Linked DNA regions of Homo sapiens: regions 1, 3, 4 and 5 are each linked to region 2. Evidence: promoter capture Hi-C in 16 types of primary human blood cells and fetal thymus (Javierre and others, 2016). All regions are on one chromosome and are shown on one strand. The core of a region is centred on a gene start or on the middle of the fragment in contact, and the rest is flanking DNA. Distances in the headings are between cores, read along the strand shown.

Region 1 (4,930 bases), core at 856-3,355, 300 kb before region 2:
CCAGTACCCAGAGTGCTTGCTTTTGAGCCCTCTGAATATGCTATGGGAATTCTGGAGCCACCTGACATGGCTTCTGCGGCTCTCCCCAACTCATCAAGCCTGGACCATACTGATTCTGTAGCTTTGTAGCTTTTTGTCCAGCACAGTTTGTGTATCTCATAAGTACTTACTGATTCAAAATGCACTGGATTTAACAGAATTGAACTGCAGATGAAAAAGAGAAAGCTCTGAGAATTTTAAGTATATTGATCAAAGTTGCACAGCGAGTAAGGAGTTGAGTTCAGAATTTGAATTCAGACTGTCTGACTCCAGTGCATTATGTTACCTCCATGATCCAGGTTGAATTAAACAATGAAGTTACTATGAGGAATACCTGTAGTAGACTGGGTGACTAGGAAAGCTCCTGTCTCATCCACACATTGGAATTGTTTAGAACAGTGAAGAAGGCAATGAGACTAGCCTGACTGCCCCTAAAATAGTCTAAATTCTTTATAGTTATCTTGTCATAAAGTAGTGAGAAGGGCCACATACAGAAGCAGGAGTCAGTCACCTCTGTGGTCTTTGCCTAGTAAACTTGCATTATGGTAATTGGCCCAATCTGCTTTGTGGTAAACCACTAGTGCCCTTTTCTCATGGTTTGTTTGTGCACAGAATGTGTCTAGTCTGAGGAACTAAACATATTAGGAAAGAGGGCTCAGTTCAGCTTGCTTCAGCCCAAAGCTTGACTGGTAGCTGAACTCCTAGGAGGTTCCCCAAGCTCCAGTTTAAATAAAAAAATGAAATAGCAAAGATCTTCCAACCCCCCGAAAAAACAAATAAATAATATGTACTCTTGCAATTCTTGTTTTCATTGGAGATCTGGATGAAGATAAGGTGGAAATCATGCCACTGCCTGTTTCTATATGATTTAGAGCCGAAATATAGTCACTGAATTTGGTGTATCTTCAAGAACTGCACTGGAAATTTATAGGCTACACTATAAACCCTGCATCTCATTTCTGAAAACCTGTTCCTGGGCTTGAACTACCTCAACAGATTCCTACAACTGTGGATGATTTTGTTGCAGCTAAGAAGCCTGATGTGCTTTATTCTAGGCATACTTTTTTTTTCTCCCCAAAGAGACTCAAAACAACCCTAGTGGTTCAAAGGCATTCATCAAAGGTAATTTTTTAGAAATGGGATTAATATTGTCACACTCTTTCTATTTGCATTATGGAAGGATTAACTTTGAATATTTATATGAAACCAAATTGTGCATATTTCTTCCCTTCAAGTACAAATTTCCTTAGAAAAGAAGACAGGTATATTAATATCCTGCCTGGCAGTGACTGGAAAAGCAGGAATTCATATAAGATAAAACACACTTATGGCCCTTACTTCTACATTAGGTTATTTTATCATGTGACAGATGGTATACAACAGACTTTAAGTCTGGTTTAGTTCCATGAGCTGTTCGGAGACATCACAGCTGGAGAGCAACCAACCTATTTCAAGGGCTGGGAAAATGCCACATGAGTTCTCTGCAACTCATGGTCCACTATGAGTTTTCAGCAGCAAAATTGTCCAGGGCCTGGGAGAGTCTCAGTACCCAGAGTACTTGCCTTCAAGCCCTCTGAACACACTGTGGGAATTCTGCAGCCACTTGACATGGTGTATGGACAACCAACACACTGGTTGGTATTCACCAAGACTCTTGCCAGGGTGCTTTGTTCTTTTCATTGTGACCATTTATCATAAGGAAATCAGGCAGTGTGTCCTGGTTATATCTGCTTGAAGGCACACAATAAGAAAATAAAAACAAAAGAATCAAAGATAAAATTTTTAAAAAATAAAGAAACTGGGCAGTATGTAGCGTGAAGTGACCAATCCTAGTTTCAAAGTAAGATTTAGGTAGAAAAATAGCAACTCACAAATTGACAGTTTCTGGGATTTGAAGAAAATGACAGCATCTCAAGCAGTCTTGTACTGAAATGGATAGCTGTGATTATCTCTTCTTTGTCTCCTGCAACCAGAGGGAAAGTTCTTAAAGAGATTCTAATAGTCAAAGATCCATGGAGCAACGGACACATCTTTCAGTTAGGATTTCTGGTTGGAATCCAGTTGCTTAGTGTTGAAAAGTGAGTTGTTACTGACCCTCCCACTGGCTGTACTTGACAGTGGAATCTACTGAAACACATCCAGGAATAGTTCAATATGCACCATAATAAAGTATTCACAGAGATTATTATTTTTTTCTTCTCATCTACCTCTTTTTTTCCCTAAAGGAGAGCTGATTTTAATTGGAATTCTAATACAATTCCATTACAGTCAAGGTCTGTAAAGGAAATAGAGGACCTTGCATGTGAGGGCGATCTGGCTGCAACAATCTTTCATGCCATTGATTGTCAGGGTTGATTTGGCTGCTCTGGCTACCTAGGTGAGTCTCCCCTTCCTTCCTCGTTGCTCCATGTGCATCCCTTCTGAAGCTGCATGCTTGGTCAAAGGGGAGGACCATTTCCAAGAGAGGACTGGTCTTTGGTCAAGGATATACAAGTAACTGCACTCCCCTGCTAGAACCTCCAAATAACCTCTCAAGGAAATACAGGACCCACAAGATAAGCCTCCTTCCCATTTTTTGTCAATTGACAGCAGCTAATTTTCTAAGCCTTTTCCTTAATCCTTTGTTTAGAAAGCTATTTCCCTGCTGCTGCTTTTCTGTCTTCTTTTTCCCTAAGATTAAGATCAAAGGCACAGTTCAGGTCACTTATCCTCACTCAACCGAGCTACTATTTTGATTAGAGCGTGAATATTCATTAGATTCTACCAATATGCGATGGCTCGTTAATCGTATTACCCTGAGGACTCATGTCACCTTGTGTACTTCACATTAATCCAGACTTTTTAATTTTGTTCAACTCATCTCTTCAGATAGACAATCTTCCAACTATCTCTTCATCTCTGACATAAAGAGCTGCTAACATTCAGCATTAGATTGAAGGAGAAGAGCAGAGAGCCTGTCTCATACATGAAGAAATTCCCTGAAGTGTTTTGCACAATTTGTATGCATTAGATACTCTATGAGTGTTCATTAAAGGAATGAATGAGAGAATGAGGAAAAGTCAGTATCCAGCTTTGCATCTACTCAGCCACTCACTGGCTGTGTGGCTTTGGGTGAGCCATTTGACCTCTCCAACCTCCATTTCCTTACCTGTAAATAAGTGAGGGGGTCAGATGATTCCTCATTCGCTTTCAATACTTAGGTTAGATATTCTTATCCACTTAACTTTTGACCTACACCCAACACAGCAGGGACTTAATATAGGGCTTGCAAATCTTTCCTAAACCAGCAGCAAAATCCCTAAAGGATGCTTAATGTGCATGTTTTTTTCTAACTACTTCATACAATATCTTTAAACTAGGACTAAGAAGAATTAATGAGAAAAAGTCAAAAGACTTTCAAGTTCCAGTAAGAGGGGAACTTGCCTTTTCTGAGAGGTGCTACCAAAGCTTAATATTTTTGAGAGAAACAAAGAACTCTGGAAGACAATTGTATTTTCATTCTCTCCCTGCAAAAAATATCTTTACAAATCATATTGTAATACTTTTCTGTTTCATCCAATATTGATAAACTACTCAAGCGCATTGACCAGGGCATTTTCAATTACTTTTGTATCCCAAGTACCTAGATTAGTGTCTCATGATAGGTGCTCAATAACGTTGAGCTACACTGTTAAAATGGAGGTTCAGAAAGGCTTGAAATAACTTGCCAGGATAACTTGGCTAGTGGTGGTGCAAGATTATGAAACTATTTTCTGATTCCAGACACACAGCTCTTTCTAATATGCTGCCTGATTACAATGAGCCGTTACCAACCTTTAATTTCTGAGCAAAGACTAGTTATCCGATGGTGGCACCAATTATGAGGACCACATACTGAGTCATTTTGATGGATTTGGGATGCACAAGATACAAGCTGCAGCCAGGGTGGCTCTGAGTAGCCAGGAGTGGGTACGGAGATTCCCTGTCTCAAAAATTTTGTTTAAATGAAGCAAGCAAGGAAGAGATGAGTTAAAATCTCCTACGGCTTCTCAAAAATAAGTTTGCTAGAGTGGAGACTGAATGACCCAAAAGACAATTTGAATTTCAACCCTGGGTGGATGCTAGACTAGGTAAACTGATGTGGAGAGATTTTCTGCTACATTTTTCTTATACACCCTTGAAAACAATGATTTTTTTTCAATCAAAAGAAGTGAGGAATGTTACATAAGTCATTTTGGAAATGGTCTGAAGCAATTTCATCTGAAGCAATAATTACTTCCAGTATGTAACTCATCAAGAAAAGTTGAAAACAGGAAAATAGCAAAACTACTGAGTATAAGAGCCAGGAATTGTGTGAAACAGGATCACTTACTTAATTTTATTTTTTGATGTGACTAATAAACCAAATCAAGCATTGCATCTTGAATTCTGAAAAAAAATGAAGCAAAACAAGTATATATATAAATGCAGCGCATTTTTTTTAGCTTTTGACTTGGTTAAAATTTAATGACATAAAAAAAATTTAGTGATAGATTTACACTATGATTTTGGTGAATATTGTTTCAAATTCATATACATCTCTATATATTGACAAAAATTTTTATCTGACTTATTGTATAATTTTAAAAGTAATTTGCTCTATGCTGTTTTCTATTATTTATGTAAAAACTATAGAAAAAGTGTTTAGAAGGCTTTTTTCTTTCTCTTGTCACTTTTCTTTTAATTTGAAGATGTGATGAGTAGACAGAAACCATGAAATTTGTTTTATAAAAATATTTGTTAAAATTCTTCAGAAATAGAAAATATAAATCATTGAAATAATCTTAAAAGTTATTAAAATTGTTTTCTTTTATATAAGGCAACAACTTGCTTTTTGGTTGCTATTTCAATTCAGATGATACAAAATTTTTTC
Region 2 (5,420 bases), core at 1,432-3,931:
TATTAAATGTTATTTCTGCATATAGGGTCTTTTATGGAGAAACTGATGATGATAAGCTTAATACTCACTTGTTTAGCAGCATCTGAATGCACAAATGCTTTATATATCTCTTCTGCTTTACAGGGCAAAAGATCAGACTCTGTTTTCTTATAGTCTTCACAAGCCAGCCAGAACTCAATATTCTCCTCACTGAATTCAGACTTTAGGAAACTTCCAAAGACATTTTGACCAGCTAAAAAGAAACGAGGGGTGGGTGGGGAGATAATTAAATTAAATGAACCAACAAATGAATAATTTGAAGAAGAAATTTGTAAGAAAAATACAATTGCTTCCTATTCATACAAAGGTAAGAGACAGCTACTGCTGAAATAGCTGTGTTATAGATTGTAGAGATGAGAAGTCATTTGAAATTTCTTCATTCATAGAAGAGGAATCTGGGGCCAGACAAACTCATTCATAGTCACATTGCTACTTGATGGTGGCTACCAAACTGTTTTGCTTCTATCCGCGGTTTGAATTGAAATTCTGCTCCACTGAATATAAAACCATCTTTTATATATGCCAAATCTTAGCCAGAGTAGAGAGTATTTTAGGAAAGCAAACACTGACAAAAGGCATTAACATCACAATAATTAGTAAATATAATTTCCCCATCTAATTTATATTAGCCAGAAAATGTTAGGCCTATATATGATCTGTAGGCCTGATGTACTAATTATGTTTGCTAGCATTCACTGAGACTTTTATATGGCACCATTTATGGTCCATATCTATACCATTTATTTGTTTAGCTGAATTATAAACAAAGTCAGCTGAGCTAGAGTGAACAATGTGATTCCCAAGTAAAGCTCCTTAGGGTGTCTGTGGGGAGAAAAGAATAATCTCACTCTTTAGAGATAGAGACCACACTGCTCATCTACACCTCTGAAAAAGGTCCTAATCTCAGTAGAATTGTAATGCCCAAGACAAGGGGATGGCAAGCTGATTTCATTCTTTACCTTCTCTCATCAGAAAATCTCCACAAGACTATATGTGCTTAAAAATCCTTCTATCATATTTATGTCATAAAAACTATCATGTTATAATAATGCAATTATTTATGTTATGTATCTCAACCACCTTCAAGGCAGTAAGAGACTGTCTTTGATTTTGAATCCTTGGTACCTCTACAATGTCCTCTACATAAGGGTGAGATGAATGATGAATGTATGAAAGATAATTTAATTAATTGAATGAATGAATCATACTTGTTACATCCAAGTGTAGAAAAATACATTCTTTAGGCAGATTTCAAAATGGCAATGTACATATTAAAATATTTGGCTTACTTTTAAAATTTTTACATATCAGAATCCCAGCACAATGTTTAATTTTATCTCCATAATGATCTATGAAAATACCTAATTGTCTTGGCAAATTTGTCTAAAAGGAGTTGGCAGAATTGAGTGCTAAGTCAGCATTATTAAGAGGCATACTATGCTGAAGTTATCAGTAACTACAGACAAACTAGAATACAACCTTTTGCATACTATCCTACCCAGAATACTATATTTAGTGAAGCCATTCAATTTTTTAGAGTATTTAGCTGAACCCAGAAACATTCAATAGTTATACTTACTTTGGTTGGCAAGAAGTTTTTCCAGAGATTGAGACCATTGCATTACTTCAGCAGCAGAAAGTCTGCAGGGGACAAAATGTACATACATTAGTCAATTTTTAAAATGTAAGCACAAATGAAATAAGAATGGCTGTTACACTTTGATAACTTCACAAACTGAAACTGTAGTTCTAATAAATATGTTAAAATTTATTCACAAAATGCAAAACTTCCCTTAGAGTTACTATAGTTATGAAAAAAAAAACCTGCCAATAAAATTTGAAAAAATCCAAATAGATAAAGTCCAATATGTGTGTGTACACATTTGTATTCAATTTACATTGGTACTGATAGTCTAATTTTATTTGGCATGTTACTTAAAAGAAATGAAGTCTACTGTGCGCAGTATTTATCCCTTGCTGGGATATAGAGATAATGCATAGGCTTCTCTTGTAAATGATAATGATAGTTTAGTGTATTAGTGTACTTACACATCCTTGGACTTGGAAGATTTCATTCCAGATTCCAGATGTGGGATCATAGATCTCAGGTATGCTTTCATATCCATTCCACTACAAAAGACATAAAAGTGAATATTCATATTTCTTCAGAATTCATTTTATTTGTAAAAAGACATAGAATAAATTTCTCTAAGGAATAAGGCAATACTAAAAATGGTTGATACAACATTTTGCTATAGAACCCATTTTTATGAGCCTGTGTAGAGAAAAACTCCTACCCAATTTAATGCCATATCAAGATTTATTTTTTAATGCAGCTGAATATTACTTATTACTCACAACAGGCAATTAACTCCTCTGATCTGGCTAAACTAAATGCTCACACTCTCTTCCATTCATTCTCAATCCTTCTGCCATTAAAGATAACTTGTTAAAATTCACAAAGTGAGACTCTGAACAAACTTACAAAGTCTTTGGCCTCCTTTTTTGCATTTTGTCGTCTAGAAGTGAATGAGTGGTTCCTTTCAATTCCTTTGGGTTAGCAGAGAAGAACATTCCTGGCATTTTGTCTAACTTTGGAGTGGAGATGGCTGCTGCGCGCATGGTGCTCTTAGCAAATATGCGCTAGTCAACGTCTCTGCTGCTTTATATAGTAGAATGCAGACAGGCACTTGCTGTTTAAAGGAGTCTGTTTATCAAGTGATGTTACCACAGACACTGGAAGTTCCCCTTTTCTTGGTGTGCTGTGACGTGTATCTTGAAAAAAAAAAAGCATACAGTGGTGTCTTGTGGTTGAAACTTAACCAAACGAGAACAGGTCACTTGATTAGAAAGAAAGAAAATTAAACATACAGAGGTACACACACATATGTCACATGTCTAAAGCATTAACAGCATCAGTCTTTGGTTCTGGAGGATGTTTGTTTATTTTAAAAAAGTTGCATGTTTCAATAAACTGTTTCATTTGGCGTATTAATTTATCATATAGAAACTCACATAGAAATTCATCACATAGAGTTGTATCTTACTCCATGCTTTGGATAGTCCTTGACTATAAAATTCATCTGATCAAAATATTTTAAGAGTTCTCTTCTTTTCTGCAGGAAGCAGGGCAAAGTAAACAAATAATTTTTGTTTAATTATTTTGCACATATCTGATAGGAGGGAAAGTTATAAGAGGCTATCTTCACATTTTCCCACTCCAATTCTCATCCCTTATTTCCATGGCAGGAAATTTCCATGTTAATATTTTCCAAGGTGTGTGCTAGACATCGACTGGCAATACATAGGATGATTTTAAGGGGTGCATGGTTTTTAATATTATTTTCATATTTATTAAGAATATAACTAGTATATCAAACTTTGATTTTTGCATATTTTGCATATTAGGAAAAAATAAAGTTTAATTAAAACCAATCATAAATAAATAAATGTTTAATTGTATACAAATATGACATAATTTGTAAACATACTGATACCAAGGTCACAGTATCAGAGGAAAAACTGCTCAAGGTAAAATAAAAGTCTATTTGGATAGACCAATAATGTGTACTTCTTAGGTAATGATCTTTCACATTTTGGCAGTATCTCTGGAGAGATAACAGTTTTAGCTTTAATTGAGATTAAAGTTTAAAACACAAACAAAACTCAAGGAACTAGATGACTAATCATTTATAAGGATAGAGAAGTTAGTAAAATATAAGCTTTCAAAAGTTTATATAACAAGTGTGGCTTATTTATAGAGTACCCAGTTTAACTTAAGCCTCCTTGGATTTTACCCCTGGAAGGACAATACTTTCCTTTAAAAGGACAAAAAAGCATTTACTTAGTGAAGCTTCTGATGGTATTAGGTAAAGCTGATAAAAGGGAGGGGAGTATTAATTTTTCTGTTCTGGTTCTATCGTCAGGATAAAGAATATTTGAAGAAAACACATTTACAATATTATAAAATTCACTTATACACAGTCATTAATTTCATTATAATGAGCTCATTATATTGTATGTAACAAGCATCATTTTATGTTGGGAAGATAACATAAGGCATTAAGAAAGATAACTGGTGAGATGAGCTGGCCACTTTGGAAGTGACCCTAATGAGACCGATGAAACTCAAAGACAGATGACATAAAGGCATTTGGTTGTATACTTCCTGTGGTTCAGTCCATACTTAATTTCCTGTTAAAATCTTCAACATTGCTCATGTTTGTTGATCTAGTATCCTCTCACTCCTCTAAATAATTGTGAGTAAGTTATGTTAGAGTAAAATGATTTAAAAATTATTTTTAACAGCCCACTAGTATTATCATCCAAATATACTGACAGTTTCCAAAGAACAAGAGCAGCAGCAAAAATTATGGGGCCAAGTAAGTTTGGGAAATGTTGGACTCCTAACTTGTTAAAGAACTAAACCCTCTTTAGATAGGGAAAATAGTTTTTTGAAATAATGTGTTTTTTTGACACTATGTTAAGAAACTCTGGTCTGAGATCAAAATAAGTTTTTGCCTGTAGTGTATTTAGGAACTGCTCTGATGCTCCCAACATTTTGCTACCCCTATCCCAATATACATTTTGAAGCGCAAGCATTTACAACTGCATGCTTCCACACTTGAATAGAAATATAAACTCTTGAAAGAGGGAGTCCTTTCAAAATTCCTGTATCACAATTGGCTGATGAGGTCACCTTAGTCATGCAATAAAGCAGCTGCTCTCTCAGAGGCTGTTTGCTCATCCACCCAAAGTCTGTGTGTTCCAGAACAAGGCAAATTTGGTCAAGTTGTATCAGCAAGTGTGACAAGTGCATGGCAGGGCATTGAAAGTTCCCTATTAATTTTAAAGAGAGTGCCACTATCTGGCCCCTCTTTGTAAACTTCACTAAGAAAAGATAAACTGTCAAATTGTAACTTTATTGAATCAATGACTTTGGTTGAAATAGTAGAGGATTTCAAAAACGTCAGTAGAAGAAACAGTGGGTCTCACGATCTGGGTTTCAGTTTTCCCTCTTTGAAACTGTGCTAAAACATCTAGGTTTGAGTTTCTAGGAAAAGGAATACTTCATGTAGTCTTAGTGTTATCTTTTTTTTTAAAGAAAAATTAATGGACTTCATTTTTAGGGAAGTTTTAGGTTTACAGTAAAATTGAGTGGAAAGTACAGAGTTCCCACAACTCCCCACCTTTCACCTTGCCTCCAGCTCCACCTCCAGCACCATACCTCGTTAGTGTGAAATATTTGTTATAATTGATGAACCTACAGTGACACAGCATTATCATCTAAAATCTATAGTTTACATTAGAGTTCACTCTTGGTGCTGTACATTCCATGAGTTTGACAAATGTATCATGATATGTATCCATCATTATAGTAC
Region 3 (5,541 bases), core at 1,500-3,999, 500 kb before region 2:
AGTGGGCGAAGGATATGAACAGACACTTCTCAAAAGAAGACATTTATGCAGCCAAAAGACATATGAAAACATGCTCATCATCACTGGCCATCAGAGAAATGCAATTCAAAACCACAATGAGATACCATCTCACATCAGTTAGAATGACGATCATTAAAAAGTCAGGAAACAACAGGTGCTGGAGAGGATGTGGAGAAACAGGAACACTTTTACACTGTTGGTGGGACTGTAAACTAGTTCAACCATTGTGGAAGTCAGTGTGGCGATTCCTCAGGGATCTAGAACTAGAAATACCATTTGACCAAGCAATCCCATTACGGGGTATATACCCAAAGGATTATAAATCATGCTGCTATAAAGACACATGCACACGTATGTTTATTGCGGCACTATTCACAATAGCAAAGACTTGGAACCAGCCCAAATGTCCAGCAATGATAGACTGGATTAAGAAAATGTGGCACATATACACCATGGAATACTATGCAGCCATAAAAAGGATGAGTTCATGTCCTTTGTAGGGACATGGATGAAGCTGGAAACCATCATTCTCAGCAAACTATCGCAAGGACAAAAAACGAAACACTGCATGTTCTCACTCATAGGTGGGAATTGAACAATGAGAACACATGGACACAGGAAGGGGAACATCACACACCAGGGCCTGTTGTGGGGTGGGGGGAGGGGGGAGGGATAGCATTAGGAGATATACGTAACGTTAAATGACGAGTTAATGGGTGCAGCACACCAACATGGCACATGTATACATATGTAACAAACCTGCACGTTGTGCACATGTACCCTAGAACTTAAAGTATAATAAAAAAAAATTAGCTGGGCGTGGTGGCACATGCCTGTAATACCAGCTACTCAGGAGGCTGAGGCAGGAGAATCACTTGAACTGAGGAGGCAGAGGTTACAGTGGGCCAAGATCGTGCCACTGTGCTCCAGCCTGGCCAACAGAGTGAGACTCTGTCTCAAACAAACAAACAAACAAACAAACACAGTGATGTAATAGAGAGTTGTTAGGGTGTGGTGACTGAACAGAGTGTGCCCTGACAAGTGGTGTAGACACGTATTGACTTAGTGCTGCCAAAAGAAAAAAAACTTACTTTCAAGAGAAGCCAGAATATGGGTTTTTATGTCGATTTTTAAAGATAATGACAAAGAATTCATTTTTACCCAAAAATATTGTATAGGCCACATGAAACACATCTCTATGCCAACTGAGCCTATTATGTTATTTTTGAATGCTAAATAACTTGATCAAAAGTTAACACTAACATGCAGGAACTTCTCAAGTATTGTGACTCTTGCTATCTTCCAGATTTTGGTGCAAAATCATCTTAAATGAGTAAATGTTTCCTGTGAGTATATCTTCTATTTTGTTTTTCCAGTGAAAATAAAAATTCCTTAAAGCAGTTTTATCCTACCCGGTTCTGTAATTGCGCTGGCCATGCAGTGGGTGCACAATAAAAATACCATACCTGATGACTTGAATCACATTTTGACTTGTTTTGTCTGTTATAAATACACATTACACTTAAAGGCATTAAAATACTATTAATTCTGTAGCTTAGAGTTTTTCCAAATTTTTAAGCTTTGAAATGCTAGGGATTCTCTGTCCAATGTGATATTGCTATTACTAACATGGTTTCAACTGTGAGTTCTGCCCTCAACAATTTCAAATTAAAGAATCCTATGTGTGGAAGTAAGTTTAGGAAACATCTACTAATTCCTCATTATATAGACCAAAAAGACAAAGCACAGAATAATTATTTTCACAAGTTCAGAAACTAATTGGTCCAGTTAGAACTAGTAATGGGCGGTCTTTCTCTTAGTCTAGTACTTGCTCCACACTTCCAAGACACATCTCAACAAACCAATAAATAAAGCTGGATGCCTAAGTCCTTCTTATGTTGGATCAAATATTTGGATAAAAAATTTAAATGTAAAAAATAATGTTTCTTAACCAAGAAAATGTTAGGAAAAAACCACAGATAAATATTTTAGGTTGGAAAAGGCCCTTCTAATCCTAACACAAAACATAAACCTATGAAGACATGGATAAATTTGACTACATTAAAATTCAAAACTTTAGTGTGCCAGAAATGTCCCCCAACCAAAAAAAAAAAAGACAAAGAAAAAAAAGAAGAAAAAATGCATGCACTGTATATAAATAATACATTATCAACTCCTCTAATATGAACCCCAAGTTCTTAGAACAGTTTCTATCCATAGTAGGTGCTCAATAAATATTTGCTGAGGGCCAGGCACAGTGGTTCATGCCTATAATCCCAGCACTTTGGGAGGCCAAGGCAGGCGGATCACCTGAGGTCAGGAGTTCGAGACCAGCATTACCAACATGGTGAAACCCTGCCTCTACTAAAAATACAAAAATTAGCAGAGCATGGCGGCAGGAGCTTGTAATCCCAGCTACTTGGGAGGCTGAGGCAGGAGAATTGCTTGAATCTGGGAGGTGGAGGTTACAGTGAGCCTAGATTGTGCCATTGCACTCCAGCCTGGGTGACAAAAGTGAAACTCCATCTCAAAATAAATACAACAAATAAATAAATAAATATTTGTTGAATGAATAGTGATCACAATCAATAGTTAAAAAGACAGTAACTAAGTGGACAAAAGGGCTATGATGTAATTGTATAATTATACATATATACACACACATACATATATATTATATATACATACATATAATTATATGCATACATATATAGGTATATATATGTATATAGGTATATATATATTACATACTATACTATATACTAACATTATATATTATATATACTATATTATACAATATATAGGTGTATATATATATATAATCAGCACATGCAAAGATGAGCTTCTGCCCAAAAATGTAAATTCAAAGAATCTTTCATGATTCTACTGAAAGAGATTAAAAAATAATGACAACAGTTAAGTGTTCAAATGTGGGTACACTGATCCCTTTCACATACTGTTTGTGGATTTAACCATTATGAAAGTAGGTACTCTATGCAAGTGTTTTCATTGTAGTATTTTTGTAACAGTATAAAAAAACCAGAAACAACTCTTGTCAATAAGAGACTAGCTAATAAATTACAGTCATACAATGGTATATATGCAACTATTTCTACTGACCTGAAAGAAACAGCAATAGCAATAGCAATAATATACTTTTTACTGAAACATAGAAGGCATGTAACAAAATTTAGTGAAACACAGTAATATATGTTTAGGAAAAATCTGGAGTAAATTACAACATCTGATATACAGCAAGGGCCCTCAACTCCCAGGCTATACACGGATACCAGTCCGTGGCCTGTTAGGAACTGGGCTGCACAGCAGGAGGTGAGCAGCAGGCAAGTGAGCTCCACTTCCTGTCAGATCAGTAGCTGGGCATTAGTCTCATAAGAGCACGAATCCTACTATGATCTGAGCATGTGAGGGATCTAGGTTGCGCTCTCCTTATGAGAATCTGATGCCTGATGATCTGAGGTGGAACAGTTTCATTCTGAAACCACCCTGCCCTCCCCACTGCCTGCGGAAAAACTGTCTTCCACAAAACCAGTCCCTGGTATCAGAAGGGTTGTGGACTGCTGATATGCAGTTATTTCTTTTGAAGAGTAGGACTGCATCATATTTTTCTGTATTATTCAACTATTTTAAAACATGTAATCTAATAAAATCAAAATAAAATGTTTATACATATAAATATTTGCAATTTATTATTTACATTTCATTTGAAAAACCCCAGTTATAGTTAAAAAATAAGTCAGGAATTACTGAAGAGATTCTGTATATAAAAATATGTGTGGAAGGGAGAAATAGAGAACCAAAGTGTACTTCTACTACATGTTAGGTGCTGGGACATTTAGTCTCAATAATTGTAAGCTTATTCTCCTTACCCTCCTTTTAATAGATGAAGGTCAGAAACTCAGCTTAACTTACTTGGCTTAAGTCCACAGAACTGAAATGTGAACCCACCCTTCTGAGTGGCTGTCTTTTCAAGTTTCACTTCCGGTGCAAAAAAAAAAAAAAAGTCAAATTTTGAACATGTTGATTTTTGTGGAACTTCACACTTCAAATTACTCCTGCCCAAGAGTTTTTCTTATTTCTTTTCTTAAAAGGACTAGTAATTATTACGGAGCCAACTAACTTTTCAAAAGTCTCTTTCCATAGATACAGAAAAACTGCCCCAAGTTATTATGTCCCCTGACTAACTGCCTGAAGACAATTAACTTCCTGAATTGTTAAGTTCAGCACTATATCTGGTATATTCCTTTAGGTTCCATGGAAGATGGGTTCCTAGGAAGATGGGGAGGGAAAAAAGGAATGGGCTAGAGCAGTGGGTACAGCATGGCCATCTGCCGCCTACTGGCAAGGAGCTGATTTGCTTATTGCAACTTTTTTTTTTTTTTTTTGCTTTTCTACTTAGCATTTTATTGGTTACAGAGTAGTTTTCTATACATAATCTTAAGGAACAGCTGTGTACAGTTACCTAAGTTTTACAAACGATTATACTGAGACCAAGTTTGAATATCTGATGAGTAACTGGCAAAGCTGGAACTCAAAAGCAGTTCCTTCTAGTGACTGTACCCATATCCAAGGCTTATTGCAACTTTTAGTCTTGCCCCTGCTACTTACACAGTCCAGAATCACTTGGGTGAGCATTCCAGTTAGGACGGTGGCATTTTAAGATTCAGAATATTAACCTATAAACCTGTCATTTGATTCTTGATTATTAATGTCTGGATCGCCTGTGGTAGGGGTGTAATCCCAGGAAGGCATTAAATATATTTGAATTAATGTATATTTTGAGAATAAAAGGCTATTTCTAGAAAATATTACACACTTGTCTTATGTTAAATAAAAATTTGCTATTTATTGAATATCCCTTACCCACCCTTCTTCCCAATGAAGATCTTATGCTTACCTTCACTGGAAGGTTTAAGATGTGACAATCTTAATAGATCTTTGTGAGACCAGCCATTTCTCTGTTTATATTTTGTAACTGCCAGAGCAAGGGCCATGCCACCTTTCTCATTGTACCAGTCCGCTATAGCCTTCCGGAGGGCACGACCCCACATGCCACATTTCATGCTTTCCTTCAGATCTTTCTTAAACTGGATAAAAGTAAAGAGATGGGTAGGAATGCGACAAACTTCAGAAACAGCTTTAAATGCTGCTTGTTTTGTGCTTATGTCGGAGCACTGGGAACAAATGGCAAGTGCAAAGAGCATAGGCTCTTGCTTTGTGGTTCTGCCTTCTTGACTAAATGACTTTATTTCTTGTATCACTTCACATCCTCTGCCATCTTCAATCAATCTAATTAAAGCTTCAGCATTTTCAAGGCCCAACTTCTGTTCTTTGATATAATAAGTCCCACCTTCAGAACCGAAACATAAGAACCGGTGTAGTCGATTCATGTCAGTGACTTGCCATACATATCCATCCTGAGAATTGGCTATCTGCTTCTCATTCAGTGGCTGCATTTGGTTTACAGATTCCTCCATTTTTTTTTGTCTTTAGGAAACCTAA
Region 4 (5,486 bases), core at 2,491-4,990, 460 kb before region 2:
TAAGTTTATTATGATAGTTCATTTATTTTGCATGCTATATGATACCAGCTGCACTAACATGCTACAGTTTACTTAATCTTCTGTAGTTTGTTCTTTGGGTTTTCAATTTGAGTTACTGTGAATTGTGTTGCTGTAAACATTTTTTGTACATGTGCAAGTTTCTCCTGGTGTATACCTAGAAGTAGAATGAGTATTTCATCTAATATGTAAATGTGCAACTTTTGAAGGAAATATCCAAACGTTTTCTGAAGTAGCTGTTCAAATTTGCATTTCCACTAGCAATGTGTAGGAGTTGTTACAAAGCCACATATTATAACACGTGGCATTGCTAGGCTTTTAAATTTTTGTCAGCTAATTGGTTCCAAAATGCTACTTCATTTTTGTCTTGGCTTATGTCTCCCTGATCACTAATCATGTTGAAATGCCCTTCATGTGCTTAGTGGCCATATGTATTTCCTCTGTGAAATTCTTGTTTATGTTATTTTTCAATGGGGTTAATTATGCTTTTTTTAAAAAAAATTTATTGATACATAGTAGATGTACATATTTTGGGGATACATGTGATAATTTAATACCTTCACATAATTTATAAAGATCAAATTAGTATAATTGGGATATCAGTCACCTTAAATATTTGTCTTTATGCTAGAAACATTCAAATTATCCTCTTATAGCTATTTTGAAATATATGATAGATTATTGTAAACAATAGGCACCCTACTGATTTGTCAAACACTAGGTCTTCTTTCTTCTGTTAAACTGTATATTTGTACCTATTAATGAAACTCCCTTCATCCTCTTCACCACCCCACCCTTCCCAGCCTCTGGCAACCATCAGTCTACTTTCTATCCTGAAGATTTGCTGTTTTAGCTTTCACATGTGAGTGAGAACATGAGATATTTGTCTTTCTGTGCTTGGCTTATTTCATTTAACATAATGACCTCCATTTCCATATTGCTCCAAATAACAGGATTTCATTCTTTTTTATGGCTGAATAATCTCACATTGTATGTATATACTACATTTTCTTTATCCATTCATCCATTGATGGACACTTAAGTTGATTATATATTTTGGCTATTATTAATAGTGCCATAATAAAAACAAGGAGTGCAGATATCTCTTTGATATATTTATTTCCCTTCTTTCGGATCTGTATACCCAGTAGTGGATTGCTGGATTATACAATAGTTCATTTTTTAGTTTTGCATAACCTCCATACAGTTTTCCATAGTAGCTATACTAATTTACATTTCTACCAATAGTGTTTATGAGGGTTCCCCTTTCTCCACATCCTCACCACTTATCTGTCATTCCCTTTTTGTTAAAAGCCATTTTAACTTGGGTGAGATGATAACATTGCGGTTTTGATTTGCATTGCTCTGATGATTAATGATGTTGAGTATTTTTTTATATACCTGTTGGCCATTTGTATGTCTTTTGAGAAATGTCTATTCAGATCTTCTGTCCATTTTTAAATCTGATTTTTTTTATCTTCTCCTGTTGAGTTGCTTGAGCTTCTTATATATCCTGGTCGTTAATCCTTTATAAGATGGGTAGTTTGCAAATATTTTCTCCCATTCTGTGGGTTGTCGCTTTACTTTGTTGATTGGTTCCTTTGTTATGCAGAAGCTTCTTAGTTTGATGTAATCCTATTCATTTATTTTTGCTTTTGTTGTCTGTGCTTTTTGAGGTCTTACTAAAAAATTTTTGCCCCGACCAGTGTTCTGGAGATTTTCCCCAATGTTTTCTTATAGTAGCTTCATAATTTCAAGTCTTATATTTAAGTCTTTAATCCATTTTGATTTGATTTTTGTGTACGGTGGGACACTGGGATCTAGTTTCTTTTTTCTGCAATGGTTATCCAGTTTTCCCAGAACCATTTATTGGAGGAACTACCCTTTCTCTATTGTATATTCTTGGCACCTTTGTTGAAAATGATTTATCTGTAAATGCATGGAGTTATATCTGGATTCTCTATTCTGTTCCATTGGTCTATGTGTCTGTATTTATGCTAGAATCCTGTTGATTTGGTTATTATAGCTTTGTAGTCTATTTTGAAGTCAGATAATGTGATTCTTCCAGTTTAGTTCTTTTTGCTCAGGATTGCTTTGGCCATCTCGGGTCTTTTGTGTTCCGTATAAATTTTGGGATTGCTTTTTCTGTTTCTATGAAGAATGCCGTTGGTATTTTGATAGGGAGTGCATTGAATCTGTCCATTGCTTTCAGTAGAATTGTCATTTTAACAATATTAATTCTTCCAGTTCATGAGGATGGAATATCCAGTTTTTGGTGAACTCTTCATCAGTGCTTTATACTTGTCCTTGTATAGATCTTGCACTTCTTTGGTAAAATTGATTCTTAGGTATTTTAGATTATTATTTTTTTTTTGAGACATAGTCTCACTAGGTCACCCAGGCTGGAATGTAGTGGCACGATCTTGGCTCATCTCCACCTTGCCTCCCAGGTTCAAGCTATTCTTGTGCCTCAGCCTCCTGAGTAGCTGGGATTACAGGCATGTGCCACCATGCCAGGCTAATTTTTGTATTTTTAGTAGAGATAGGATTTTGCCATGTTGGCCAGGTTGGTCTCAAACTTGAGGCCAGGTTGGCCTCAAGTGATCTGCCCGCCTTGGGCTCCCAAAGTACTGGGATTACAGGCTTGAGCCACTGCACCTGGCCTACTTTATATTCTTTGTAGCTCTTTTAAATAGGATTTTTTTCTTAATTTCTTTTTCAGATTCACTGTTGGCATATATAATAGCAGCTGATTTTTGTATGCTGATTTTATATTCTTCAACTTTTTTGTTTTTGAGACAGGGTCTTGCTCTGTCTGGAGTGAAGTAGCACAATCATAGCTCACTATAACCTTGTGCTCCTGGGCTCAAGCAATCCTCCTGCCTCAGCCTCCCGAGTAGCTAAGACTACAAGTGTGCACTAGCACAGGTGGCTAATTTTTAGAATTTTCTGTAGAGACAGGGTCTCATTATGTTGACCAGCTGGTCTTAAACTCCTGGGCTCAAGCATTCCTCCTGCCTCAGCCTCCCAAAGTGCTGAGATTACAGGTGTGAGCTACTGTGCTTGGTTATATCCTGCAACTTTACTGAACTCGTTTATCAGTTCCAAGAGTTTTTTGGTGGTCTTTAGGTTTTTCTAAGATTATGTCAGCTATGAACAGTGCTAATTTTATTTCTTCCTTTCCAGTTTGGATGCCTTTTATTTCCTTCTCTTGCCTGGTTGCTCTAGGCAGGACTTGCAATATTACGTTGAATAAAATGGTAAAAATGATCATCCTTGTCTTGTTCCTGATCTTAGAGGAAAGACTGTGGTTTTTTTTTTTTTTTTTGAGATGAAGTCTCACTCTGTCGCCCAGGCTGGAGTGCAGTGGCGCGATCTCGGCTCACTGCAAGCTCCGCCTCCCGGTTCACGCCATTCTCCTGCCTCAGCCTCCCGAGTAGCTGGGACTACAGGCGTCCGCCACCATGCCCAGCTAATTTTTTGTATTTTTAGTGGAGACAGGGTTTCACCGTGTTAGCCAGGATGGTCTTGATCTCCTGACCTCGTAATCTGCCCGCCTCGGCCTCCCAAAGTGCTGTGATTACAGGCGTGAGCCACGGTGCCCGGCCTAAGACTTTAACTTTTTTTAAATTCAGTATGATATTAGCTGTGAGTCTGTTTTATGTGGCTGTTATTGTGTTGAGGTATGTACCTTCCATATCCAGTGTATTGAGGGTTTTTGTCATAAAGGCATGTTAAATTTTATCAAATGCTTTTTCAGCATCTGTTGAAATAATTAGGTAGTTTTTTTCTTGGTATCACATTTATTGATTAGCACATATTGAACCATCTTGCATCCCTGGATGACTCTTACTTAATCAAGGTAAATGACCTTTTTTTTTTTTTTTTTTTTAATACTTTAAGTTCTAGGGTACATGTGCACAACGTGCAGGTTTGGTTTGTTACATATGTATACATGTGCCATGTTGGTGTGCTGCACCCATTAGGTAAATAATCTTTTTAATGTGGTATTATTTAATTTGGTTTGTTACTTTTGAATTTGGTTTGTTACTATTTGGTTGAAGATTTTTGCATCTATTATCATCAGTGATACTGGTCTGTAGTTTTTTTGTTGTGTCCTTGCCTGGTTTTGGTATCAGAATAATGCTGATTTTGTAGAATGGGTTGGAAAGCATTCCTTCTTCTTCAATTTTTTTGAAGAGTTTGAGTAAAATTAGCATTCATTCTTCTTTAAATGTTGAGTAGAATTTAGTAATGAAGTTGTCACATCCTGGGCTTTGCTTTACTTTTAATTATGGCTCTGATCTCATTACTTGTTATTAGATTCTTTAGATTTTTTTATTCCTTCCTGGTTCAGTCTTGGTAGGTTGTATGTATCTAGGAATTTGTCCATTTCTAGGTTTTCCAATTTTTTTGTATATAGCTGTTCATAATAGTTTCTAATGATTCTTTGTATTACTGTGATTTCAGATGTTATGTGTCCTTTTTTGTTTCTGATTTTATTTATTTGGATCGTCTTTCTTTTTTCTTAGCCTGGGTAAAGGTTTGTCAATTTTGTTTACCTTTCCTGAAGATTTTTCATTTCCTTGATCTTAATATTGTTTTTTTAAGTCTCGATTTCATTGATTTCTGCTCTGATCTTTATTATTTCTTTCCTTCTAATAATTTTGGGTTTGGTTTGTTCCTGCTTTTCTAGTTCCTTGGGGTATATAATTAGGTGGTTTATTTGGAGTCTTTCTACTTTTTTGATATTTTCGCTATGAATTTCCCTCTTAGTATGCTTTTGCCATATCTCATAGATTTTGGTATGCTGTATTTCCATTTTTATTTGTTTCAATGCATTTTAAATTTTTTTCTTATTTTCTTTATTGGCCTATTCATCATTTAGTAACATGTTGTTTAATCTCTATGTGTTTGTGTAGTTTCCAAGGTTTCTATTATTGATTTCTAGTTTTATTCCATTGTGGTCTGAAGAGAAACTTGGTATGTTATTTTACTATAAATCATATTATTCAGTGATTTATTGAGAACTTGTTTTGTGGACTAACATGGTCTATCCTCGGTGTATGCTGGATATCCATATGCTGATGAAAATAGTGAAAATAATGTGTATTTTGCAGCAGTTGGGTGAAATGTTCTGTAAATGTCAGTTAGGTTTATTTGGTTTAGTCTGTAGTTAACCTCTGATGTTTCTTTGTTGGTTTTCTGTTTGCATGATCTGTCAGAGAGAGTAGATAGTAGTATTTGCTTTAGATCTATAAACACTTGCTTTATATTTATACACTTGGGAACTCAGGTGTTAGGCGTATACATATTTATAATTGTTATATTCTCTTGCTAGATTGACCCCTTTATCATTATGTAGTGACCTTCTCTGTCTGTTTTTATAGTCTTTGCTTTGTAGTCTATTTTATCTGATATAAGGATAGTACTCCTGTTCTTTTTTTTTTTTTTTTTTTTTTTTTGGT
Region 5 (5,295 bases), core at 402-2,901, 420 kb before region 2:
TGGTAGATGCAAACACATCTTTCATATTCCCTTGATTCTCTTGGTTGTTCTTTTCTCTTCTCTGTGGCCTGGTAATTCCATACTATCTTATTTGTACCTTGTTCTTTATTTCATCTTATTTTTAAAAAGTTGTTTTAAGCAGGAGATTTAGTCGGCTACTGGGCCAGCATTACTAGACACTGAAATTTCTTCTCTGTTCATTTCTACAGTGTAAAAATTTTCAAGCTTTACTACTGGTTAACAATTATTTTTCAGAAATACGAATTTCAAGAAAAATAGAAAAATAACTTGTAGTTGTTATCTCTACAGTAGTAGTGTTCTTTGTGTTTTTATGTTCCTTGATTACTAGTGGAGTTAATCTTTTGTGTGTTTAGTGGCCACTTATATTTCTTTTTTAATGAAGTACCTGTGATATACTTATTTTTCTTTTGGTATGTTAATATTTTTGTTATTCATTTGTAATAGTTTCTGATATTAAGAAATGTTGGAGTCTAAGGAAAGCTGAAATCTTATTTCTAATGCTTTTCTACCATCCAATTTTCCTATCAATAAGAAGGAGGAGCAGTGATATTGATGGCATAAGAATAAGGATATTTAGGCATGGGCCCCACTCGGGTCCGGGTTTCAGTTCCTTGGGGAGGCCCCTGGTGTCCAGATACCACAGCTTCTGTCACGTGGAACCTGCTCCGGCTGCTCCAGCCCCAGGGAGGACCCAGGACACCCAGAAGCCGGAAATGGACTCAGTGGCCTTTGAAGATGTGGCTATGAACTTCACCCAGGAGGAGTGGGCTTTGCTGAGTCCTTCCCAGAAGAATCTCTACAGAGATGTGATGCTGGAAACCCTCAGGAACCTGGCCTCTGTCAAAGTCTGGGTGAGAGATTCTGTGGACATAAAGAAGGGAGTCAACATGGTGAACCCTTCAGCCAGATTCCTGATTGTCACCTGAAGAAGAAAAGTCATACTGGGGTAAAACCATGCAAATGCAGCGTGTGTGGGAAAGTCTTCCTCTGTCATTCATTCCTGGACAGGGACATGAGAGCTCACGCCAGACAGAAACGCTACCAGTGTGATGGGGAATGGGGAGAGAAGCCCTGTAAACAGAAACAATGTGGGAAAGCCTCCATTTCCCCCAATAGTGGTCCAAGGCGCACAGTAACACCAACTCAAAAGAAACCTTATGAATGCAGGGTGTGCGGGAAAGCCCTTAATTCTCCCAATTTATTTCAAATTCATGAAAGAACTCGCACTGGAGAGACGGCCTATAAATGTAGGAAAATCATGAGAGCCTTTACTATTTCCAGTTACTTTCGAAAACATGGAAAAATGCACACTGGAGAAAACCGCTATGAATGTAAATACTGTGGAGAACCTTTTGATTATCCCACTTTATTTCAAATTCATGTCATCCTGGAGAAAAACCTCACAAATGTAAAGAATGTGGTACAACTTACGTTCAGACACATGAAATCAGAACTCACGCTGGAGAAATCCCACCAATGTCAGGAATGTGGGAAGAAACTCAGTCGTTCCAGTTCCCTTCGCAGACATGAAAGGACCCATAGTGGAGGAAAACTCTATGAACGTCAAAAATGTGACCAAGTCTTAGATGTCCCATGTCCCTTCAAGCACATGAAAGAGCTCATGCTGGAGAGAGACCTTATGAATGTAATAAACGTGGTAAAACCTTCAATTATCCCAGTTGTTTTCGAAGACATGAAAAAACTCATAGTTGAGAAAAGCCATATGACTGTAAAAGGTGTGGTATGGCCTTCGGATGTGGCAGTTCCCTGAGGAGACATGAAATGACTCACACTAGAGAAAAACCCTTTGACTCTAAACAATGTGGTAAAGTCTTTACTTTTTTAAATTGCCTTTGACAACATGAAAAAAACTCATTTAGCCAGGCGCAGACAGTGCTTTTGGAGGCTGAGGCAGGGGGATCACCTGAGCCCAGGAGTTTGAGACCAGCCTGGGCAACATAAGAAGGCTGGGTATTGTGGAGATGGACGATGTAAATTGAAGAATGCACACTGGATGGAAATGTTAGTAGTCTGGAAAATACAGGAACGTTTTCAATTTTAACAATTACTCTATTTATTATTATTATTATTTTTGAGATGGAATCTCGCTTTGTCCCCCAGGCTGGAGTGCAGTGGCATGAACTTGGCTCACTGAAACTTCTGCCTCCTGAGTTCAGGTGATTCTCCTTCCTCGGCCTCCCAAGTGGCTGAGATTACAGGTGTGCACCACCATGCCCAGCTAATTTTTGTATTTTTAGTAGAGATGGGGTTTCACCATGTTGGTTGGGCTGGTCTCAGACTCCTGGCCTCATGTGGTCTGCGCGCCTCTGCTTCCAGAGATGCTGGGATTGCAGGCATGAGCCATCATGCCCGGACTAGATACGTGTTTTACATGTCTTTTTACAGAATATATAACATGCAGCACCGTGAAGAACAGTCTTCATATCCCTTAAGAAAATCTGTGGCTTGGGTGTGGTGGCTCACACCTGTAATCCCAGCACTTTGGGAAGCTGAGGTGGGAGGATCACTTGAGCCCGGGAGTTTGAGCCCAGCCTGGGCAACATGGCAAGACCCCTTGTCTCTGAAGGAATGCAAACAAATTAGCCAGGTGTGGTGTGGTGGTGGGTGCCTGTGGTCCCAGCTGCTCAGGAAGCTGGGGCCAGGGGATCGCTTGGGCCTAGGAATTCAAGACTATAGTGAACTATGATCCTGCCACTGCACTCCAGCCTGGGTGACAGAGCAGGACCCCGTTTCTAAAAAAATATATATATATAAAGTCTGTGAAGTTTGTGCTTAGACAAAGACTTGTTTGGATTGCCTCCTGGAGAAAGGTTTATGAATTTGACAGTGTTCATATGTCAGAACCTTAAGTTGACTCTGTGGGTGAGAGACCCTTTCAGATGAAAATGAAAGTCTTGAAGTCTTGAAGGAGGGGGTATTTCCACACTGTGAGGGAGAGGTGGGCATGTTAACTTCCCAGAGTTAAATTCTTACACGTCCCTGCCTTGGCAATGGGGCTGGATCTGCTCTGGGGCTCCATTTCAGCCCAAGCTTGGGAATGTGTTTTGCCTTCTGAATGTGAGTTTTCCTTGTGAACTGTGGGTGCAGCCAGCTGCTTATCTAAGCGAGTTCAAATCTCTGTAGGCAGACAGGTAGAGTCTCCCGGGATTACAGGAATCCAATCAACTTGAGCAATCAGCCTAGTTTACAGCCTACTGCTAGGCAGCCTCTTCTTCCCCAAATCCCGGGTGGAATGCGGTGACCTTCTTTCTTTAAACCAGCTCTTTGTTTGTTTGTTTGAGACGGAGTCTCACTCTGTCACCCAGGCTGGAGTGCAGTGGCATGATCTTGGCTCACTACTACCTCTGCCTCCCAGGTTCAAGCAATTCTCTAGCCTCAGCCTCCCGAGTAGCTGAGATTACAGGCATGCACCACCACACCTGGCTAATTTTTTGTATTTTTAGTAGAAACAGGGTTTCACCATGTTGGCTAGGCTGGTCTCGAATGCCTGACCTCAAGTGATCCACCTGCCTCAGCCTCTCAAAGTGCTGGGATTACAGGCATGAGCCACGGCACTGGCCTTGTTTTTTTTTTTTTTTTTTTTTGAGATAAAGTCTCACTCTGTCACCTAGACTGGAGTGCAGTGGCACGATCTCAGCTCACTGCAACCTTCACCTCCCGGGTTCAAGCAATCCTCCTGCCTCAGCCTCCCAAGTAGGACTACAAGTGTGCCACCATGCCCAGCTACATTTTTGTATTTTTAGTAGAGATGGGGTTTCGCCATGTTGCCTAAGCTGGTCTTGAAATCCTGGCCTCAAGTGATTCACCTGCCTTGACCTCCCAAAGTTCTAGGATTACAGGTGTGAGCCACCATGTCCAGCCTGGATACTTATAGTTATTTCTTGATTATATGGTAAACAAGGGGAGGATTACTCATGAGTTTTCCAAGGAAGGGGGAGGAATTCCCAGAACTGAGGGTTCCTCTCCTTTTTAGACCATATAGGGTAACTTCCTGACATTGCCATGGCATCTGTAAAGTGTCATGGTGGTCCTGGGAGTGTCCTTTAGCATGCTAATGTATTATAATTAGTGTATAATCAGCAGTGAGGACAACCAGATGTTACTCGCATCAACCAGATGTCACTTGTCAAAACCATCTTGGTTTTGGTGGGATTCGGCCGCCTTCTTTAACCACAACCTGTTTTATCAGCAAGGTCTCTATGACTTGTATCTGTGCGGACCTCCTATGACTTAAAATACCTAACCTCCTGGAAATTCAGCCCAGTGGGTCTCAGCCTCATTTTACCCAGCCCCCCTTCAAGATGGGAGTTGTGCTTGTTCAAAGGCCCCTGACATGACGATGCTAAAATCTCCACTCAGGGAGGAGCTATAGCTCATGACCATCTCATGAGACCTTATACTGGCAGAACGGCTCAGTGCATGTGTGCCACTGAAACTCCCTCCTCTACATGTGGTGACGCACCCTCTCCCCTCTCCATGGCCTCAGAAAACCCTCCTGTCACTTTGCCTCAGAGAGACACTGCTTTGGAGAATACTCCCCATGGCCTCCTTACTTGAGTCAAGTAGTAAAACCTCTACTGACGAAAAAAAAAAAAAAAGAATAAGGATATTTATCTGGTTGTAGTGATGAGGACAATGTCCTGTGGATCAGGTCATTTAATAAATATTTATTACCAAGTAATATTTATTACCCAATACTAAGTGTCGGGTGGTTAGTGAGTTTCTGGACATATAATGGTAAAAACAACAGACGTGTTTTTTGTCTTCACGGAGCTTACCATTCAGTAAACTGGGTGAGATTGAGATACATGAGTCACAGTCACAAACATATAATTACAAGCCAGTGTAAGTATATGAAAATAGGGTTTTGTGATCTTGTCAACAAGAGAACCTGACCTATTTGGGGACAGTTTGAGTTGAGATCTGAAAGACAAGTGGGAGTTAAATAGACAAAACCTGGGGGTTGTGTGTAGAGGAAGGTATTCTAGGCAGAAGGGAATAGAAAGGCTGTGAGAGGGGAAAGTTTAGTGCTTTAGAAACATTAAAAAGGCCAACATGACCAGGATGTACAAAGCAAATGCATGTATAGAGTTGGAGAGGTAGCCAGACTATGCAGGTTTTTGTGAATTATACCAATGATGTTGGTCTTTATACTAAGATCAATAGAAGCCGTTAAAGGGGTTTGAGCAGCAGAATGATGTGGTCAGAGTTTTATAAGATCACACTTTCTGTAATGGAGAACTGACAGTTGGA

Evidence for each region. The method cuts DNA at HindIII sites, captures the fragments that hold promoters and counts their contacts. A CHiCAGO score of 5 or more calls a contact.
Region 1: a contact is called between a fragment that was not itself captured here and the fragment with the promoter of RGS1 in region 2, in 2 of 17 cell types (M0 macrophages and M2 macrophages). The highest score is 7.2, in M0 macrophages.
Region 3: a contact is called between a fragment that was not itself captured here and the fragment with the promoter of RGS1 in region 2, in 5 of 17 cell types (neutrophils, M2 macrophages, fetal thymus and 2 more). The highest score is 11.9, in neutrophils.
Region 4: a contact is called between a fragment that was not itself captured here and the fragment with the promoter of RGS1 in region 2, in 6 of 17 cell types (M0 macrophages, neutrophils, megakaryocytes and 3 more). The highest score is 10.9, in M0 macrophages.
Region 5: a contact is called between a fragment that was not itself captured here and the fragment with the promoter of RGS1 in region 2, in 1 of 17 cell types (naive B cells). The highest score is 5.3, in naive B cells.

What each region holds. Positions count from the first base shown.
Region 1 is chr1:192,873,393-192,878,322 of GRCh38, reverse strand. It overlaps the pseudogene RN7SKP126. Among named protein-coding and RNA genes, the nearest start is that of RGS2, 67 kb to the right of the region's middle. The HindIII fragment of the contact is 2,766 bases long and covers 723-3,488 here.
Region 2 is chr1:192,573,034-192,578,453 of GRCh38, reverse strand. It overlaps RGS1 (regulator of G protein signaling 1), which reads right to left and starts at 2,681. Exons shown (of 5, transcript NM_002922.4): 1 at 2,525-2,681; 2 at 2,089-2,169; 3 at 1,619-1,680; 4 at 69-232. The coding sequence starts at 2,661. All of the region lies in intron 3 of LOC105371664 (a long non-coding RNA gene), which reads left to right. RefSeq lists an enhancer at 2,757-2,836. The HindIII fragment of the contact is 3,705 bases long and covers 59-3,763 here.
Region 3 is chr1:193,069,030-193,074,570 of GRCh38, reverse strand. It overlaps RO60 (Ro60, Y RNA binding protein), which reads right to left. Exons shown (of 9, transcript NM_001173524.2): 2 at 4,937-5,537. The coding sequence starts at 5,516. Among named protein-coding and RNA genes, the nearest start is that of RO60, 12 kb to the right of the region's middle. The HindIII fragment of the contact is 2,294 bases long and covers 1,603-3,896 here.
Region 4 is chr1:193,036,315-193,041,800 of GRCh38, reverse strand. All of the region lies in intron 3 of UCHL5 (ubiquitin C-terminal hydrolase L5), which reads left to right. Among named protein-coding and RNA genes, the nearest start is that of UCHL5, 20 kb to the left of the region's middle. The HindIII fragment of the contact is 4,210 bases long and covers 1,636-5,486 here.
Region 5 is chr1:192,990,117-192,995,411 of GRCh38, reverse strand. It overlaps the pseudogene ZNF101P2. Among named protein-coding and RNA genes, the nearest start is that of RGS2-AS1, 45 kb to the right of the region's middle. The HindIII fragment of the contact is 2,847 bases long and covers 228-3,074 here.